Regions from separate parts of the Homo sapiens genome. Here region 1 is linked to region 2. The links are contacts of gene promoters, found by promoter capture Hi-C in blood cells and fetal thymus (Javierre and others, 2016). All regions are on one chromosome and are shown on one strand. The core of a region is centred on a gene start or on the middle of the fragment in contact, and the rest is flanking DNA. Distances in the headings are between cores, read along the strand shown.

Region 1 (3,066 bases), core at 567-3,066, 380 kb after region 2:
TATTTTCAAGTAGTAAAATAGAGAAAATAAGGACAGTGAAGAGTCCTAGTACAGCTGGCCTTCCGTATCCACAGGTTCCACATCTGTGGCTTCAGCCAACCACAGACAGAAAATATTTGGAAACAAATCACATCTCTATTGGACATGTACAGACTTTTTTGCTTACTGTTCCCTATACAATGTAACAATTATTTACCTAGCATACATTATATTAAATAAATATATGTATACAATTTTTTCTTGAGATGGAGTCTTGCTCTGTCACCCACGCTAGAGTGCAGTGGTGCCATCTTGGCTCACTGCAGCCTCTGCCTCCTGGGTTCAAGCGATTCTCCTGCCTTGGCCTCCCGATTAGCTGGGATTACAGGAGTATGCCACCGCACCCAGCCAATTTATTTTTTTTGAGATAGTCTTGCTCTGTCACCCAGGCGGGTGTGCGGTGACATGATCTTGGCTCACTACAGGCTCCGCCTCCTGGGTTCAAGCGATTCTCCTGCCTCAGCCTCCCAAGTAGCTGGGATTACAGGTGCCCGCCACCACAGCGGGGTAATTTTTGTATTATTATTATTTTTTGAGATGGAGTCTTGCTCTGTCACCCAGGCTGGAGTGCAGTGGCGAGATCTCGGCTCACTGCAATCTCTGCCTCCAGGGTTCAAGCAATTCTCCTGCCTCAGCCTCCTGAGTAGTTGGGACTATAGGCGCGTGCCACCATGGCCGGCTAATTTTTTGTATTTTTAGTAGAGATGGGGTTTTACCGTGTTACCCAGGATGGTCTTGATCTCCTGACCTTGTGATCCGCCTGCCTCGGCCTCCCAAAGTGCTGGGATTACAGGCATGAGCCACCACACCCGACCAATTTTTGTATTTTTATCTTTTTTTTTTTTTGAGATGGAGTTTTGCTCTTGTTGCCCAGGCTGGAGTGCAATGGCGTGATCTCGGCTCACCACAACCTCTGCCTCCCGGGTTCAAGTGATTCTCCTGCCTCAGCCTCCCTAGTAGCTGGGATTACAGGAATGTGCCACCACGCCTGGCTAATTTTGTATTTTTAGTAGAGACATGGTTTCTCCACGTTGGTCAGTCAGGCTGGTCTCAAACTTCTGGCCTCAGCTGACCCGCCTCTGCCTCCCAAAGTGCTGGGATTACAGGCGTGAGCCACTGCGCCCGGCCCAATTTTTGTATTTTTAGTAGAGGTGGGGTTTCGCCATGTTGGCCAGGACGGTCTCAAGCTCCTGATCTAAGTAAGTGATCTGCCCAACTTGGCCTTCCAAAGTGGTGGGATTACAGGTGTGAGCCACCAGGCCAGGCCAAATATATTAAGTATTATAAGTAATCCAGAGATGATTTAAAGTATAGAGTATATGCACAGGTTATATGCAAATACTGCCTCATTTTATATCAGGGAGTTTATAGCATCTGTGGATTTTGGTACCCACGGAGGTGCTGGAACCAATCGTTGAGGATTCCAAGGACAACTCTATGATGCAGGCACACCTGTCCTAGCTGCTCAAGGGTCGTGGGATGCAGGTAGGTTTTCTCCCCCTTCCCCCTCCCTCCCACCCACCTTCTCTCCCATCTCTCTCTCTTTCATTCACGAAGTCAGCAGTGGCCAAGCACACAGGTGTTCCCAGCTGCATATCTGGGATACTGAGGAAAGGTAAGAAGTCTCAGGAGTGAAGAAGCCACAGGCCGGCGTCTTCCTCCCTGGGCCTCCAGCAGTGGGGAGCCAGGGAGCGCACCTGCTGGGCCTGGGCCCTCTCCCCTGGGCTGGGCGGCCTCTGCTGGCCCTGGGGAGGGCGGGGCTGGTTGCCAAGGCCTCAGGTGGTGTGGAGCCGGAAGCAGGAAGCAGCCTGTGCTCCCCAGGACCTGCCTGGTTGGGGGAATTGGAGGCTTCTAGGAGGTAGGTGGGGGCCTGGGGGCTGGGCTGCCAGGGGGAGAGAGAGGGGAGATGACAGTGGCTGGGGAGAAGGTTGTCAGGGTAAGGACCACAGGGCTGGGCAAGGAGAGAAGCTGGGCCTGGGGCCGAGGGAGAAGTGGAGTGGGAGGGGGTGGGGAAGCTGGCGCTGGGCCAGGAGCGGGCAGTGGCTGGGCTGTGGGAAGCCTGGATGTGGTCCCCGCTGAGCTGAGCCCAGGATCCTGATGCAGCCTCTGGGGGACCGGGGCAGGTGGCACGGTGCACGCCAAGATGGCTGTGTCCACAGAGGAGCTGGAGGCCACGGTTCAGGAAGTCCTGGGGAGACTGAAGAGCCACCAGTTTTTCCAGTCCACATGGGACACTGTTGCCTTCATTGTTTTCCTCACCTTCATGGGTAAGTGTGGCTGTGGCCTCTGGGTCCTCCCAGCCCCCTGCCCTGGGCTCCAGGTTGGGGCCACACCTGGACGCCTGTCCTGTCCCCAGGCACCGTGCTGCTCCTGCTGCTGCTGGTCGTCGCCCACTGCTGCTGCTGCAGCTCCCCCGGGCCCCGCAGGGAAAGCCCCAGGAAGGTGAGCCCCTGGAAGGTGAGCCCTGCCGGCCTCTGGGACCTGCACGGAACTGTACTGGGGGTGGAGGCGGAAGGTGAGGGGAGTGGCGGGAAGGGTGCTCATCCCCCTAGGGAACAACGAGCGAACCTGCTTGGTCCCGCTGTGCTTCTCGTGCAGGAAAGACCCAAGGGAGTGGATAACTTGGCCCTGGAACCCTGACCCTGTGTCTCCTGCCCGGTGGCAGTAACAAAGCCTTCTGTCTGCCCAGAGCCTGAGTCTGCAGTGTCTTCCAGTCCCCGTCTGGGTGGGTGACGCGGGACTCGCCGCCCCACTCAGGTGGCCACCTGGCCTCTCCAAGCCTTCAGTCAGCACGACTGTGCCAGGTCATCCTCAGTCACCTAGCTGGGAGGGGAGCTGGTCTCAGGCCGGGCGCGGTGGCTCACACCTATAATCCCAGCACTTTGGGAGGCCGAGGTGGGCGGATCACGAGGTCAGGAGATCGAGAACATCCTGGTTAACGTGGTGAATCCCCGTCTCTACTAAAAATACAAAAAATTAGCCGGGCGTGGTGGCGGGCACCTGTAGTCCCAGCTACTCGGGAGGCTG
Region 2 (3,453 bases), core at 890-3,389:
GGACACCCATGTTTCCCACTCCACCCACCCATAGCACCCCGGAAACCACCTCCACCACCTGAAGTTTCTATATCAGTGTTCACCTGCCATGGTTACAGCATCAGTCCCACCCTATTATTTCTCCCTCCTGATTCATGTTTACTGTATAAACACAGTGACTGCAAATATCTCTGAAAAGAACAGATCACCTGTTCTCCCGCCTCCCTAACATAAACTGTTTTAAGCTCTCCCTACAGTCTGTAGTTCCATGCCTATCTGTTTATGTTGCTGGACTAAGGCCCACCCAGGAGCAAGAATTAGGGCCCCTCAAGTATTCTCCAGACCCCTCCAAGCAGTACTTAACTGCACTCAGAGCCACCGGCTGTCTTGATGCAAACCTAGGTACCTCCTCCTAACTTTTCTTGTTTGTTTTTTTCTTTTTTTGAGACAGTGTCTCACTCTATTGCCCAGGCTGGTGTGTAGTGGCACAATCTCGGCTCACTGCAACCTCCACTTCCTCGGCTCAAGAGATCCTCCAACCTCAGCCTCCCAAGTAGCTGGGACCACGGGAGTGAGTCACCACACCTGGCTAATTTTTTTTTCTTTAACTTGTTGTTCAGAGGGGTTTCGCAATGTTGCCCAGGCTGGTCTCGAACTCCTGAGCTCAAAGCAGTCCACCCAAAGTACTGGGATTACCGTGAGTCATGGTATCCAGCCCCTCCCCCTAACTTTTCAATGGCTCTGCACTGCAATCAGAATAAAACCCAACTTCTTCCGGTGGCCCTTGGGTTCTGCAGGACCACTCTGGACTCATCTGTCACCATACTGCTCCGGCCATCCCCTCCATCCACTCATGCTCACTTTCCATTTCTCCACCAGGCTCTTTCTCAATTCTCACCCTTCTGGCCTCAGCTAAAATGCCATCTACTCCAGGCAGCCTTTCCTGACCACGCTACTGAGACTGGCCCCCTCCATTCTCCATCCCAGTCCCTCATGTGTGTTCTTCAATGTCGTTATGAAAACCTCCAATGCTCTTGTTTGTCTGCTTGCTGTCTCCCTCATGAGGCTACAAGTGCCACAGGGGAAGGAAAATGCCGTTGTGTTCACCGGGATGTCTCCAGCAGCTTAGCACAGCATAAAGTGGAAGCAGAGGAAATATAGTCCACACTACAAAAACGGAACCTCTACCCAGACTGCCCTGACTTGCTCTGGGACCCTGATGGGGTCACTTGAGGTCAACTCCTAGGCCCAGTTATCGGAGGACACTCCCAGGCCTTACAAATAACACGGAAAGCGGAAGAGCAGAGCTGACATCGTTTCCAAGGCGCACCCCTCATCAGTCCTCCTGCCGTTTCGGGGGTCCGAAGGGTCTCCCGGCACCTGGCTCAGCAATTCTTTGGGGCTCCACCTGCTCAGGCTTCCCCAGGCCCCACCCAGCCGTGGCAGCATCACCGAGATAAAGAAAGAGCTTGCGCCAGCGGCGAGAGGAGGAAGCACCGGCGGAAACCCGAGGGAGGGGCGCGTGCGGCCGAGGGGCTCCCTCCCCACCACTGACACACTTGGGCTCGCCGGGGCCAGAGGAGAGAGGGGCGTCTCCCCACAGCCCAGCCAGGGGCAGGGGCGACCCGGGGCGGCAGGGAGGAGGAGCCAGGCGCCGGCAGCGCCCCGAGCCCCGGCTCCCGGCGAGGCCGACCGGAAGCTGGGAAGGCAGGCGGCCTCGCAGGCCTGGGCCCCGGCTAGGAGGGCTGCGCCGCCTCGGGGGTCCCGGGGCGAGGTGGGCGAGGCGGGCAGACCGCCAGGGTCACCGAGCGCCAGAGCGAGTCACGGGAGTGCCGGACTCTGCCCTCCGGCGGCGACGAAACGGCCCGGACGCCGGGGCCCTGGCCTGAAGGGGGGTTCCCCGGGGATGGAGGTCTCGGGGTTCCAGACGGCCCTGGAGGGCACCCCTGTGGGGTCCGGGCAGGGGGAGGGGCAGCCGGACGGGGCCCGAGGCGACAGCGCCCGGTCCTCGGGCCGGACTCACCTCGCGGCGGGGCGGCCGAGCCTCGGTGTGCCGGAACTTGGACACCCTGAAGCGGTTCATGGCGACGGGCACGGCGGCGGACGCGTCTTCGAGGACCCCGGGCGTCGGGTCTCAGGTGCACGCTGAGCAACCGCGACTCCCGCTGCCTCGGCCCCACCCGGGACCCAATGCCGCGGTCACGCCCCCGGCGCGCCCCACTGCCAATCGCAGCCGTCTCCGGCCCCCTGGGCCACGCCCCCAAGCCCCTCTCCTTTCGCGCGCGCACCACCGGTCCCGCCTCCCGGCCAATCCAGGTACGGCCGCCCCGCGAGGCCACGCCCTGATACCGAGGGGACGGACTGGCGCGGGTGGGAGGTCACGTGGGGCGCAGCTGTCAGCCCACGTCTCCTGCGGTGCTTGCTTGCGTGGGGTCTCGGCTGCAGCATTCGCGATTTTGTGTGCAGGATTTGCTGTGGAGTCTTTGCGGTGTACCTAGCACGCCTTCCAGCACTATCTACCTCTTCCTGTAGAGAGGGGAGAAATTAGCTCCATTTCAGAGACAGGAAACCCCCGGCTAAAGGAGAGTGTAAACTGTCGGTCCCCAGGTCACACCAGTGGTAAGAGGCAGAGGGGGAACAGGGGCCCAGGTCTAAAGCAAATCCCTGTCCACCGGGCCTACTCAAAAGCCTCTGCATCCGGCCAGGCGCTCTGCATCCGGCCAGGCGCGGTGGCTCAGGTCTGTAATCCCGAACTTTGGGAGACTGAGGCAGGAGTATCCCTTGAGCCCAAGAGGTCGAGGCTGCAGTTATCTGTGACCGTGCCACTGCACTCCAGCCTGGGAGACAGAAAGAGACCCTGCCTCTAAAAATAATAATAATAATAGCTTTTAATTTTTCTTTAGTATTTATTCATTTATTTGACACGGAGTCCCTGTCACCCAGGCTGGAGTGCAGTGGCGCGATCTCAGCTCACTGCACCCTCTGCCTCGCGGGTTCAAGCAATTCTCTTGCCTCAGCCTCCCGAATAGCTGGGATTACAGGCGCCTGCCACCGCGCCCAACTAATTTTTTATTTTTAGTAAGAGACGGGGTTTCACCATGATGGTCAGGCTGGTCTCGAACGAGACTCAAGCAGTCCTCCCAACTTGGCCTGCCAAAGTGTGGGGATTATAGGAATGAGCCAACGCACCCAGCTGATTCTTGCATTTCTAAGGTTTGAAAAGCAATGCTTACATTTTATCTTAGTTCGGGCAGAAGTGTATTTACTGTGAACCAAAGTCACTTGTGGTTTATTGAAAAGGCTTTTTGTTTGTTTGTTTTGAGACAGAGTCTCACTCTGTTGCCCAGGCTGGAGTGCAGTGGTGTCATCTCAGCTCACTGCAACCTCCACCTCCTGAGTTCAAGCGATTCTCCTGCTTCAGCCTCCCAAGCAGCTGGGATTACAGGTGTGCGCCACTACTCCTAATTTTTGTAT

Evidence for each region. The method cuts DNA at HindIII sites, captures the fragments that hold promoters and counts their contacts. A CHiCAGO score of 5 or more calls a contact.
Region 1: the fragment with the promoter of SMIM22 here is called in contact with the fragment with the promoter of CORO7 in region 2 in 1 of 17 cell types (neutrophils); the score reaches 8.7 in neutrophils.

Annotation. Positions count from the first base shown.
Region 1 is chr16:4,793,553-4,796,618 of GRCh38, forward strand. It overlaps SMIM22 (small integral membrane protein 22), which reads left to right and starts at 1,817. Exons shown (of 4, transcript NM_001253794.2): 1 at 1,817-1,897; 2 at 2,163-2,306; 3 at 2,396-2,496; 4 at 2,638-2,939. The coding sequence starts at 2,183. The coding sequence ends at 2,679. The HindIII fragment of the contact is 14,181 bases long and covers 1-3,066 here.
Region 2 is chr16:4,414,457-4,417,909 of GRCh38, forward strand. CORO7 (coronin 7) reads right to left here and starts at 2,140. Exons shown (of 28, transcript NM_024535.5): 1 at 2,003-2,140. The coding sequence starts at 2,062. CORO7-PAM16 (CORO7-PAM16 readthrough) reads right to left here and starts at 2,140. Exons shown (of 31, transcript NM_001201479.2): 1 at 2,003-2,140. The coding sequence starts at 2,062. LOC124903635 (a long non-coding RNA gene) reads right to left here. Exons shown (of 3, transcript XR_007064963.1): 3 at 2,269-2,505. The HindIII fragment of the contact is 33,533 bases long and covers 1-3,453 here.